Regions from separate parts of the Homo sapiens genome. Here all the other regions are linked to region 3. The links are contacts of gene promoters, found by promoter capture Hi-C in blood cells and fetal thymus (Javierre and others, 2016). All regions are on one chromosome and are shown on one strand. Each heading gives the region's core, a stretch centred on a gene start or on the middle of the fragment in contact. The rest is flanking DNA. Distances are from core to core; before and after follow the strand shown.

Region 1 (4,316 bases), core at 1,553-4,052, 380 kb before region 3:
CTCAGCCTCCCAAGTGGCTGGGACTACAGGTGCCCGCCACCACGCCTGGCTAATTTTTGTATTTTTAGTAGAGACGGGGTTTTACCGTATTAGCCAGGATGGTCTCGATCTCCTGACTTCGTGATCTACCTGCCTCGGCCTCCCAAAGTGCTGGGATTACAGGCGTGAGCCCCCGCGCCCGGCCCCTAGTGCAGTGGTTTTAATTGTGTTCATGGGGACCCTTGCTGGGGACTGTGGAGGGAAGATCATGGGGACCCTTGCTGGGGACTGTGGAGGGAAGATCATGGGGACCCTTGCTGGGGGCTGTGGAGGGAAGATCATGGGGACCCTTGCTGGGGGCTGTGGAGGGAAGATCATGGGGACCCTTGCTGGGGGCTGTGGAGGGAAGATCATGGGGACCCTTGCTGGGGGCTGTGGAGGGAAGATCATGGGGACCCTTGCTGGGGGCTGTGGAGGGAAGATCATGGGGACCCTTGCTGGGGGCTGTGGAGGGAAGATCATGGGGACCCTTGCTGGGTGCTGTGGAGGGAAGATCATGGGGACCCTTGCTGGGGGCTGTGGAGGGGAAGAAAAGTCACGTGAACGACAGACGGAATTCCATTCCCTCCAGTGCACACAGCTGCCGCTGCAGCAATTATGTGCTTAAAAAATAACAAAACATGTAGTTGGAGTAGATTTTCAATAACATGAAATTACAAAAATTAAATTTTTGGTTTTTGTTGTTACTGGAGTAAAAAGCTTTAATGCCTTTTCTTGTATTTATTTCTTGCTCTAGCCTTTTTCAGAGACCAAAATTTGCGTGTGGAATCACTTCCCAAACATGTATTCTGCCATCAGAGATCCAGAGCAATGAATCTAAGTTGCTTCAGGCTATCATGATAACCCTTTCTCTCATCCCCAAAGCTCATCGATAAAATTTGACATTTGCTCATCAGAAAACAATTCCCGATTCTGCGCTTCTTATCTGTGCTGTTCTCCCCCACAGGCAGAGGGTTGTACATCTTTGATTACTCCTAGAGTGGAGTAAATGGGATTGTTAAGCATAAGGATGAAGGCAAGATGGGGAGGCGGAGCATCAGATCCACACTCAGGTTTTGCAAAATCAAAACAAACAAACAATTCCCCAATAACAACAGAAGCCTCTAACTCTTTTTTTTTTTTTTTTTTTAAGACAGGGTCTCGCTCTGTCTCCCAGGCTGGGTGCAGTGGCGCCATCTCGGCTCACTGCAAGCTCCGCCTTCCAGGTTCACCCCATTCTCCTGCCTCCGCCTCCCGAGTAGCTGGGACTACAGGCGTCCGCCACCACGCCGGGCTAATTTTTTGTATATTTAGTAGACACAGAGTTTCACTGTGTTAGCCAGGATGGTCTCGATCTCCTGACCTCGTGATCCAGCTGTCTCGGCCTCCCAAAGTGCTGGGATTACAGGTGTGAGTCACCACGCCTGGCCAGAAGCCCCTAACTCTTTTAGAACAACGTGCTATTTATTAATAGGCTATTTTCTCATCTCCCCTTCTGGGAAAGCTCACTCAGAAAAACCCTTAACACACAACCAGAAAGCCTCTGGTTACAAGTGACCTTTGCAAAGTGTCCTGTTTTCAAAGGAAGGGGCTTCAAAATAAGAGAAGATGGAAGACATCTGAATTGGAACTCACCCCCGCACCCCAACCCTGGGGAAGAGGGTGGGGATCAAGATCACTGCCGGCCAGGCACCATGGCTCACGCCTGTAATCCCAGCACTTTGGGAGGCCGAGACAGGTGGATCACGAGGTCAAGAGTTCGAGACCAGCCTGGCCAACATGTTGAAACCCCATCTCTACTAGAAATACAAAAATTAGCCGGGAGTGGGTGCACGCTGTAGTCCCAGCTACTCGGGAGGCTGAGGCACGAGAATCACTTGAACCCGGGAGGCGGAGGTTGCAGTGAGCTGAGATCTCGCTGTTGCACTCCAGCCTGGGCGACAGAGCAAGACTCAAAAAAAAAAAAGAGAGAGAGAGAATATTAGCCTCTCCTTGTTCCTCCAAAAGGCAGAAACTAAACCCCCAGAGGCAAATCTACCAAGGCTGACCCACTCCCCACCACACTGCCCTGCTCCAACCCCACCGCCCCTCAACCATCCTCCCTACCTTCCAGGGGAATTAGGAACGGAGCAGAACTCCATGGCAGCCAGTCTTGGTTACCCACTGATTTAATCTCTGATTCCCGCCGTGAGGAGAAAGAATATGAATTACTATAAACCCATCTGTTCCCTTTCTTTCTAAAAAGACAAGGACCCGGGGCTGGGTAATAATACTGTTGGCATTACGGGAGGTCTCTAGCTCACTGGTGTCTCCCTCCCCCCTTCCCCCAACAGCGCATAATTTGAAGATTTTCTTTAAAAAAAAAAATGACTTTAACGCCCCCAACTAATGTTTTCCTAACAGTAATAATTATAAATTCCAAACAAAAACTTAGCGGCGTGTGTGTGTGTGTGTGTCTCTTCCAGGCTTTTCATTTCAATAGATCTGCTAATTAAAAGCTATAATTTAACAAATAATGACCTAACCATCTCACTTTGAAATCAAACAAAAACCTACCACTAAAATGTGGGACTAGATACAGATAATGAATCCGGGTGCAATTCACACTCCTGCTGGGCCCAGGCTGGCCCCCTTCCAGCAACGGGCCTACGCCTGTGATTAGCAGAAATAGCTTTTCCAGCCATTTGGAGCAAACAGGGAGGATAAGTGAGCAATTTATGAGTCTAACAGTCGTTTTGGACCCACGCCCACTGCTGAAGGAGCAGGATGGAGCATTTATCCCTCCCCTGCCCTCGTTCATTGACACTTGGTCAATTTCATTTTCTCCCCGGCCCTCTTTGGCCCCTGGGGGAGAGAGTTATTTCTTTTTTTTCTTTTTTTTGAGATGGAGTCTCGCTCTGTCGCCCAGGCTGGAGTGCAGTGGTGCAATCTCCGCTCACTGCAAGCTCCGCCTCCCGGGTTCAAGCCATTCTCCTGCCTCAGCCTCCCGAGTAGCTGGAACTACAGGGGCCCGTCACCACCCCTGGCTAATTTTTTGTATTTTTAGTAGAGACGGGATTTCACCGTGTTAGCCAGGATGGTCTCAATCTCCTGACCTCGTGATCTGCCCACTTTGGCCTCCCAAAGTGCTGGGATTACAGGCGTGAGCCACCGCGCCCGGCCCCTAAAGTTATTTCTTAATAACAAGCCGGAAGGATTTGTGAAAAGGAAAACTAGTAATGAAACCAGGTGAAGATGCCCACTGAATCCAGCATCCTAAATGTTTAATAAAATAATAAACGATGGGCTGGGTGCAGTGGCTCACGCCTGTAATCCCAGCACTTTGGGAGGCTGAGATAGAAGGATCACCTGAGGTTGGGAGTTTGAGACCAGCCTGGCCAACATGGTGAAATGCCGTCTCTACTAAAAATACAAAAATTAGGCTGGCATGTTGGAGGGCGCCTGTAATCCCAGATACTCGGGAGGCTGAGGCAGGAGAATGGCTATTTTTTTTTTTTTTTTTTTTTTTTTGAGATGGAATCTCACTCTGTCGCCCAGGCTGGAGTGCAATGGTGCAATCTCGGCTCACTGCAACCTCCGCCTCCCAGGTTCAAGCGATTCTCCTGCCTCAGCCTCCCGAGTAGCTGGGACTACAGGCGCCCCCCACCAAGCCTGGCTAATTTTTTGAATTTTTAGTAGAGACGGGGTTTCAGCGTGTTGGTCAGACTGGTCTCGAACCCCTGACCTCGTGATCCGCCCGCCTCGGCCTCCCAAAGTGCTGGGATTACAGGCTTGAGCCAGCGCGCCCGGCCGAGAATCGCTTGAACCCGGGAGGCGGAGGTTGCAGTGAGCCGAGATCGTGCCATTGCACTCTAGCCTGGCGACAGAGCAAGACTCTGTCTCAAAAAAAATTTTTTTAATGTAAAAAATAATGCAATGATAAAAAACAATGAAAGCAAGATTGTTTCCCACCTACCACGCCCCTTCCCTGAGCTGGGAATTGGGCACCTGTGCCAGGTTAAACATAGCCCGCTGTTCTGGAACCTTCCCCGCAGCCCCAGCTCACACCAGTCCGCTGAGAGGCTGCCCAGCTGCTGTACAGGAAATGCTCACGCTCCGTGGGAGGAGCCTTCAAACACTCACCCCTTCCTGGAGTCCCGGCGGGACGGGAGAACTGGGGACTCTGCGAAAGCGCTGCGGAGCGTCCAAGAGCTCCCCGTGGAGCTGAGGCAGGAAGACCGCGCACTGGCTGAGACCCCAGGAGCCCAAAGCTGGACCTGGCGCAGGCGCAGGGAGGAAGGCGCTTCTGGGTGTGCAGA
Region 2 (4,414 bases), core at 7-2,506, 360 kb before region 3:
ATCCTGTGACCGCTTACACTTCCAGGGCCTGGCACCTGCTGTTCCCTCTACCTCCTGTCTGCTTGGCAAACTGCTATTCATCCTTTGAAATCCAGTTCAGGGCCGGGAGCGGTGGCTCACGTCTGTAATCCCAGCACTTTGGGTGGCCGAGGCGGGCGGATCACTTAAGGCCGGGAGTTCGAGACCATCCTGGCCAACATGGTGAAACCCCGTCTCTGGTAAAAATACAAAAAATAGCTGGGCACGATGGTGGGTGCCTGTAATCCCACGTACTCGGGAGGCTGAGGCAGGAGAATCGCTTGAACCCGAGAGGTGGAGCTTGCAGTGAGCCAAGATTGCGACACTGCGGTCCAGCCTGGGCGACAGAGCGAGACTCGGTCTCAAAAAAAAAAAAGTTTTTGTTGAATGAGCGCATGAAGGGGCAGAGGCTGCAATTGCGCCCCTACGTCTTCCACACCGGGCGTGTGGGTTGAAACGCCAGGGTCTCGCCTGGGAGAGAAGGAGGCTCAGGGCTTCCCGGGACCCGCTCTCCGGAGGGGGTGGGGTCGAGGCCCCCGTGAGCGGCTCCCGGACTTTCTCTCCCGGGCGGGCGTTCCGTCCTCCCTCGGGGAGCGGCGCCGGAACTTCCGGAGGAAGAGCCGGAACTTTTGAAGCCCAGGCCCCGCCCGGCGCTAATAGGCACCTACGCGGCCGCCGGCGGAACCGCCAGACCCTAAATCACGGCGCCCCGCCCGCCCCCGCCCGCCCCCGCCCGGGCCGAGAACTCGCGCTCCCGGGCACGGGCAGGTGCCGCGGAAATGCCGGGCCCGCCGCTCGCTTTGAAGTCGGCCGCGCCCCGCAGCGCCCGGGAGTCCCGGGTTCCAGGAGGGGGCGCCTCTCCCGGGTCCTCGGGGTTCTTCGCGTGGGGCCGTTTCCTGACGTGCGCGGGGAAGGGCGGGAGCGGCCGGGAAACGCCACCGGGAAACGCGCGCTGCGTGGGCATTTTCTTTGCTTTTACTGACCTTTTTTTTTTTTCTGGTTTATTTTTTGTTGTTTTTGAGACGGAGTCTCGCTCTGTCCGCCAGGCTGGAGCGCAGTGGCGGGATCTCGGCTCACTGCAACCTCCGCCTCCCTGGTTCAAGCGATTCTCTGCCTCAGCCTCCCGAGTAGCTGGGACTACAGGCTCCCCGCCACCACGTCCAGCTAATTGTTGTATTTTAGTAGAGACGGGGTTTCACCGTGTTGGCCAGGCTGGTCTTGAACTCCTGACCTCAAGTGATCCGCCCACCTCGGCCTCCCAAAGTACTGGGATTACAGGCGTGAGCCACTGCGCCCGGCCTCTAGCTGTTTTATAATTCGACATATATTGCAGATTTGGGGGACATAGAACCTGGGAAATACAGATGTCCTTAGGATGCTTTCATCCTAGTGGGCAAGGCAGACAATCACAGAAGTAAATACATACACTCTGCTTCCTAATGCCTTATTATTTTCTTTTATGGAGAAATTCACAGTTTGAAATAATGGGGTTATTGGCAATGCTCTTTTGGCGAGATGGATGTGAACCACACACCCATTCCAATGCCATAGGCCTTGGCATCTTAGAGGCATTTGGATTGTGACTGGGAATGAGTGGCCTTCAGGCGCTCCAAATAACTCAGCTGTGGATGCCGGAAATTCTACTGGGGGTCTTTCTTTGGGAATAAACATCATCTTTTTTCTGAGACCCTCTTTCAAATGCAAATCCCTGGGGGAAGAGGACAGAGGCTGCTCATTGAGTTCATAACCTGGCAGGGCTGTGTCACAAGATGGGGCTGCCCGAGGGCTCTGGACCCCAAAGATGCCCCTGATGTGGACCCAGGGCTGCAAAGGGATCTTCCCCGTCACCCTCTGCTGCTGACTCATCCCAGCTCTGCCTGCAGAAGGGGAGTCAAAGGGCAGTGGAGGGAGAGTCAGGCCCAACCAAAACCCGAACCCCAATTGCAGCCAGCCGCCCTCCATAGCTGAAAAAGCCGGAAGCTCTGGGTCAGCTTTACCTGCAGGGCCCTGCGCCTCCCATATGAGTCCTGCCGGGACACTCATGCTTTTCCTCAGTGACATCTCTGTGGTTGCCCACGGGACTTGACAAGAACTTTCAAGGTTTTGTTGTTGTTTTTGTTGTTGTTTTTCTGAGACGGAGTCTCGTTCTGTCTCCCAGGCTAGAGTGCAGTGGTGCGATCTCGGCTCACTGCAACCTCCAGCTCCTGGGCTCAAGCCATTCTCCTGCCTCAGCCTCCCGAGTAACTGGGATTACAGGCGCCTGCCACCACGCCCGGCTAATTTTTGTGTTTTTAGTAGACGGGGTTTTATATACTCTGTTGGCCAGGCTGGTCTCGAACTCCTGAACTCAAGTGATCCGCCCGCCTCGGCCTCCCAAACTGCTGGGATGACAGGCGTGAGCCCCAGTGCCCGGCCCTCTGCCTCTTTTTATTCCTATCAGCTCTCCTGCTAGAAGCCAAACTTAGCACCTTATCTGGGAATGGGGAGGAAGAATGTGGAACCCAGACACCCCACAGCGGCCCCAGAGCTAGGCAGGGCAAGGTCCCCGGGGCAGCGTGGCCGGGCTGCCCGTCTGGTCCCCGCTTACAAGAACCTGCAAGCTTCCCTCCTTGCTTTCCTTCTTCCCCTCGGTTCCTCCCCCGCCGACCTACCTGGAGGCCGATAATAAAGCAGGAGGAGGGAGATGGATGGACGGGAGGGCGGGGCGCCGCGTGGTGCCATAAAGCCCAGCTGGAAGGGGCCTGTCTCGGGAGTGTCCAGCCCCAGGAGCCGGGGACCGTCCGCGTCGCGAGCCGGGCCAAGGCAGTGGGCAGAGGGCAGAGGGCAGAGGGCCGGGGCTGGGGCAGAGGGCGAGTGCCCGGGAAGGCCATGCTGCGGGGCGCGCCAGGACTAGGCCTCACGGCGCGGAAGGGGGCCGAGGACTCTGCGGAGGACTTGGGGGGCCCCTGCCCCGAGCCCGGGGGCGATTCGGGGGTGCTGGGGGCGAACGGCGCTTCCTGCAGCCGGGGCGAGGCGGAGGAGCCGGCGGGCAGGAGGCGCGCGCGGCCGGTGCGGTCCAAGGCGCGGCGCATGGCCGCCAACGTGCGGGAGCGCAAGCGCATCCTAGACTACAACGAGGCCTTCAACGCGCTGCGCCGGGCGCTGCGGCACGACCTGGGCGGCAAGAGGCTCTCCAAGATCGCCACGCTGCGCAGGGCCATCCACCGCATCGCCGCGCTCTCCCTGGTCCTGCGCGCCAGCCCCGCGCCCCGCGGGCCCTGCGGACACCTGGAGTGCCACGGCCCGGCCGCGCGCGGGGACACCGGGGACACAGGCGCCAGCCCCCCGCCGCCTGCAGGGCCCAGCCTCGCGCGCCCAGACGCCGCCCGCCCCTCGGTGCCGTCCGCGCCCCGCTGCGCCTCGTGCCCCCCGCACGCGCCCCTGGCACGGCCCAGTGCGGTGGCCGAGGGGCCGGGCCTAGCACAGGCCTCCGGGGGAAGCTGGCGCCGCTGTCCGGGGGCTTCCTCTGCCGGGCCGCCTCCCTGGCCGCGGGGCTACCTGCGATCCGCCCCCGGGATGGGCCATCCGCGCTCCTGACCGGCCTCGAGGCACCGGCTGGGCTGCAGGGAGGCCGGGCTGGCAGCTGGACTATAAAACCCGGGACTGCAAAGGCGTCTTGGACAGAGCAGAACTGGACCGGCTGAGACCTGGCGTGGAAGAGAAGGAGCTCGCCAGAGAGAAGGAGCTCCGGGACCCGGGGTTGCGCCCCCACATCCCAGCCTGGGGCAGAGAGAAGGAGCTCCGGGGCCTGGGGCTGCGCCCCCACATCCCAGCCTAGGGAGGCAGTTGCCAGAAAGGCTCAGGATCCTGAACTCATCTTGGACTCGAACTCGTCTTGGAATGCCGCCTTCGCACTCCTGCGCCTCCGAGCCCTGTGTGTTCTCGATGCTTTTAGGAGAGTGAGGGCTTTGAGGCAGGAGGTGTGGGAGCGTGGGAATGCGGGTGGGGCCTGCTGTGGTCTCGTGGGCACATGAGTGCGGAGTCCCCTTCCCTGCCTGCGCTGCTGCCCAAGCCTGATCCGGGAGAGGCAGGATCCGGGAGAGGCAGGCAGGGGCAGCAGCCAAATAAAAGGAAAAACTCATTTCTCTCCGATACCACGACTCCAGTGGGCCCCGTGGCCCAGGGTGGCAGGAACGCCTGAGGGCTGGGGGCTCTCCTTGGAATGCTGGGCGGGGCCTAAGGCCCACAGGTAGGCGCCTGGGGGAACTCATTCATGGCAAGACCCCAGGTGTGGCTGAGCACTGTGGGAGCCCAAGGGGAGGAAAGAGACATCCAGAGACCCCTCCTCCCTGAGTCCCCTGGGGTGGAAGAGGATATCAGGAGAGGGGTCACGGGGCCTGGGAGTCTAAGGATGGGG
Region 3 (4,480 bases), core at 641-3,140:
CCAACAGGGTATGAAGGTGTGAAGGTAAGTGTGTGTTGGGTGGTGCAGATGTCATGTAGAGAAGCATCCTCAGCCTGCCTTCAGCAATTCCAGTGACAAGGCAAAGAGGAGAGAACAACCCTAGCATCATTTCCATAAACGTTCCTTTCTTCTCTTCCCCTTCATCCCCATGGGGTTGGAAAGCCACGGAGATGTCCTCAGAGCCCGTGGGGGAAATGTCCTTTGGAGAATCATAAGGCAGCAAAAATAGACAAGAAATTGTGTCCAGCAAGCACTTAGGAGACTCCACAATGGCCTGAGGAACGTCTAGATTCTAGATGAGCCCTCCCTGGGGTGGAGGCAAGGCCACTTCCTCTCCTGCTGCACCCCAGCCCCTTAATCTGGAGTTCCTCTTTCTCACAAGCAGACAGCAACATGTTTACTACCAGCCAAGCTATGTTCCAGGGCTGGGAGGAGAGGAGAGCAGTCCAGCACTGTTCGTAGCGGGTGGAAGGAACACCCTGGACAGCAGGTGGGGTTCTGGGTGGATGGCAGGCCCAGGCTCTGCGGCCTTGCGCAAGACAGATCGCTCTGAGCCTCGATGTCTTCGTCCACAAAACAGGGGCAATGACAAGTACCCGGCAGGGCTGGGTGAGGATCAGATGGGCCTTCTGATACCCTAGAGGCACTGGGCAATGCGGTGCTGTGGCTCGCTAGGTCTTCGCCCCCATCCCGCCCCCTCCCAAAGCCCCAGCTCCAGGAGCCCCCCGCAACCCCAGGCGCTTGTCTCACCTGGCTCGGTACACAGGTAGGAGTAAAAGCCCTCTGACTTGAGCATGATGAGCAGCGAGCCCCAGCCCAGGAGGACTGCCGAGAAGAGGAGGTTCTCCAGCACGGCCGTGCAGGCCATCCACCAGCGGCGCCGATGGGCAGTGGCCAGGGTGGGCGCCATGGTGCGGCGCGGCGCGGCTCCGGCTCCGGCTCCGGCTCTGCACCACCTGCGCACAGAACTCGGCGTCAGCGGCCGGCCCTTGCCCAGCCCCTGCGGCCGCCCCCAGCAGCCCCGACCGCTGCCGCAGGGCTCGGGATTGCCACCCCTCCCCGGCCGCGGCGGCCGGTGCGCGCAGCAGAGGAAGCGAACCCCAGCCCTGCCCGGACCTGGGACACCCCGAGCCCGCGGCCGGCTCGTACCGCTGCCCTCCGCTACGACAGAGCCGCCCCGGCCAGGCAGGGAGACGTCTCCCGCAGCTCACTCCGAGGTAAACTGAGGCATGGAGGCAAGAAGGGGCTAACGCATGCTCAGGGCCGTGGAACTAGTCCTGGCCTGCAGCAGGACTGACATCGCCTGGGGCCAGCATGGAACGCAGCGTGAGGTGGGCAGGGGCAGATCCGAGGGCTGCCTCTCCCAGGGACCCTGACAGGTGCCCTCCCGCCCGCGCCCGAGACCCTTCCCCAGAGCTGGTTTCTTCAACCACAAGATCAGCGCCCAGACCTACGGAACGGCCCGCCCCGGCGCGCTCATTGGCCGGACGGCGCAGGAACTGCCGCGCCATTGGCCGCCGTCTAGGTCGCTAGGCGCTGCGGCCACGCGAACCCAGCGTGGGAGACGAGGAGCCGGTTCAAACCGGTGGCGCGAGCCAGCCGCGCGACCCCCATCTCGGGCGTTCCCCCGGCAACTCGCCCGTTTCCATGGCCTCGGACCCCCGCGCCTCCATTCCCCAGCCCGCATCTGTTCGTCATCTCTTCCCTGGCGGCCCCTCATCGCTCCATCTCTCTCCTCGTTCCCACGTTTTCTCCCTACGCCCCTTCGGCGGCCGCTTCTGCCCCCGCGCCCTCGCCCCGGCCGCGATCCCCTCCCTGCTGCAGCTCACCCGGCTCCTCCGGCGTGTGTCGGGCCCGCCCGGCGCCTTTTCTGCCCTCTTTTATTCCAGCCCTTTTATTCCGACCCCAAGAAGAAAACACTGCCGCCCGCTGATTGGCTGAGCGGGGCTGGAAACAGGCGTCGACCAATCAGCAGCCAGCCCCCCGCCCGCCCCGCCGCGAGCAGAAGCCGGTTCCGGCCGGACTCGGAGACAAACAAGAGAGATGGGGGACGGGAGGGGCCTGGGCGCTGCGGGCCGGGCCTCGGCTTTGCAGCCTTCAACCCGAGTCACAGCGCGGCCGGGAATCCCCGGCGACATCGCCCCGCGGCCTCTCCAGCGGCCTGACCCTGCGAGGCTGGGGCTCCGGCTCCGCGTCCCGGCCCCCAGCGGACTCCCCCCAGAAGCCGCCGGGCCACCAGCGCCCCCAGCCGGGCTCTCCCGCGGCCGCCCCGCCGTCCCCAGCTGCCCCCTGCGCGCGGGTCACCACGCCCAGATGCGCCGGCTCCGCACGGTGGTTCCACTCTCGAATCCCCACCCCGCCTCCTCCCCACGCAGCGCCGCCGTCCCCGCCGCCTCGGGCTTTGGGTCCTGGTTCCTCGCTCCCCCGCCCCGGTGGTTCCCGTCCCGGCGTATTCGGGGCCTGGGATCCCGGACCCGGTCCAGCCGTGGCGCCCCCCGCTGATGCACCGACCCCTTCCCCTCTCCCCGGTGGCGTCTGCCCGGTCCCTGGAAGTTGGCCCTTGGAAATCTGCAAGGGGATTTGGGGCTGGTCTGTCCCGTCCTAGGATGGGGTCTCCTGAGCTCCCCCCATCAGACTGACCTTTCTCCGCCCGTGTTCACGCACTGCTCGGTCCTCCGGGGACCCTCCACCCTTGATCGTCATCTGGGTGCTCCCTGCCCGCGCTGGCCACCTTCACCCCGTTCCCCGTCCCTTTCAGGGAAGGTCCCCTCTGCAGGGCGATGCTACGGGCCACGTCCGCCAGCTGGTACAAGCTAGGGAGGGTTCGAGGGGGCTCCGGGTCCCCGTCTGATAAGCCCGGGCTCCGAAAGCTCAGCTCCCCGTCTTCGTCCCCCGGATTCGAGGCACTAACCCGACCCGGGAAGACCCTCTGACTGCCCCAGAATCGCCTTGGTCACCCTGGCTCGCTCCGGGGGGCTGGCTTAGCACCCCAGGGCTGCCGCGCGGTGTCCACGTCTGGAATCCCAGCGGTTTGGGAGGCTAAGGTCGGAGGGCCACTTGGGGACAGGAGTTTGAGACCAGCCTGGGCAGCATGGCGAGAACCATCTCTACCAAAATAAAAACCAAAAATAAAACCCCACCACCACCCCAGGGCTGTGGGAGCCCCAAACGCCTCTTGCTCCACCTGCCCCAGTCCGAGTGTGCCCCCTACTGTCTAGAATCCGCCCGGGCCACCTGGCGAGGGCAACCTCCCCCAGACAACGCTTGGAGCTGTCAGCCTGCTGGGGGGCGGCTCCAGCTGGTAGCCTACCCGGTTCCTCACCCTGTGGAACCCTTCCCACTCCCAAGGTTTCAACTGCCATCTGAAAAATCTCTTTCTTCACCCTTCCCTCCTCTTTGAGCAGCCTGACGGCGCTGCAGGGCTCAAACATGCCTCAAATATCCCCCAGAACTGTCCTCCACATTTTCTCTCAGATAACCATACTACTACTGTCTACTGAAGTTAGATACCAAGAACCCTGTCTTTTTTCTTTTTCTTTTTTTTTTTTTTTTTTTGAGACAGGATCTCAGGCACCCAGACTGCTGGAGTGTGGTGGCATGATCATAGCTCACTGCAGCCTCGACCTCCTGGGCTTAGGTGATCCTCCTGCCTCAGCCTCCCAAGTAGCTGGGACCACAGGTGCATGCTACCACACTTGGCTAATTTTTGTATTTTTTGTACAGATAGGGTCTTGCCCTGTTGCCCAGGCTGGTCTTGAAGTCTTGGGCTCAAGTGATCCTCCCACCTCAGCCTCCCAAAGTGCAGGGATTACAGGCATGACTCACAGTGCCCTGCTGAGAACCATCCTTTCATCAGACATTTGTTAGGCAGTCGCTGTGATTCTGCCTCTCCCTCACCGCATCCCCATCAAACTGATACAGCTGTATCTCCTACATATTTACCTAATCGGTCCATCTGTGCCCTTAGGCCCGCAACTACTGTTGTTGAGCCACCTTCAGATTTCAGTTCCTCAAATCCAGCCCCCATCTCATCCCAGGGCACTAAGGGAAATGTAAATGTGACTTCTGCCAAAATCCTTCAGAAACTATTATTTGTAAAACAGGATAAAGTTCCAGTTCCTGGCTGGGCACGGTGGCTCACACCTGTAATACCAGCACTTCGGGAGGCTGAGGCGGGCAGATCACTTGAGGTCAGGAGTTAAAGACCAGCCTGGCCAACATGGTGAAACCCTGTCTCTACTAAAAATACAAAAATGGCTGGGCGCGGTGGCTCACGCCTGTAATCCCAGCACTTTGGGAGGCCGAGGTGGGCAGATCACAAGATCAGGAGTACGATACCAGTCTGGCCAAGATGGTGAAACCCTGTCTCTACTAAAGAAACAAAAAATTAGCTGGGTGTGGTGGCGCACACCTGTAATCCCGGCTACTCTGGAGGCTGAGGCAGGAGAATCACTTGAAC

The links. The method cuts DNA at HindIII sites, captures the fragments that hold promoters and counts their contacts. A CHiCAGO score of 5 or more calls a contact.
Region 1: a fragment that was not itself captured here is called in contact with the fragment with the promoter of SLC43A2 in region 3 in 2 of 17 cell types (endothelial precursors and erythroblasts); the score reaches 7.8 in endothelial precursors.
Region 2: a contact is called between a fragment that was not itself captured here and the fragment with the promoter of SLC43A2 in region 3, in 1 of 17 cell types (endothelial precursors). The highest score is 8.0, in endothelial precursors.

What each region holds. Positions count from the first base shown.
Region 1 is chr17:1,249,774-1,254,089 of GRCh38, forward strand. No RefSeq gene overlaps it. Among named protein-coding and RNA genes, the nearest start is that of BHLHA9, 19 kb to the right of the region's middle. The HindIII fragment of the contact is 4,133 bases long and covers 737-4,316 here.
Region 2 is chr17:1,267,678-1,272,091 of GRCh38, forward strand. It overlaps BHLHA9 (basic helix-loop-helix family member a9), which reads left to right and starts at 2,767. Exons shown (of 1, transcript NM_001164405.2): 1 at 2,767-4,138. The coding sequence starts at 2,887. The coding sequence ends at 3,594. RefSeq lists enhancers at 1-761, 762-1,564, 3,169-3,919 and a silencer at 623-852. The HindIII fragment of the contact is 2,719 bases long and covers 1-2,616 here.
Region 3 is chr17:1,626,944-1,631,423 of GRCh38, forward strand. It overlaps SLC43A2 (solute carrier family 43 member 2), which reads right to left and starts at 1,891. Exons shown (of 14, transcript NM_152346.3): 1 at 1,851-1,891; 2 at 772-977. The coding sequence starts at 931. RefSeq lists enhancers at 64-601, 602-1,139. The HindIII fragment of the contact is 5,783 bases long and covers 1-4,480 here.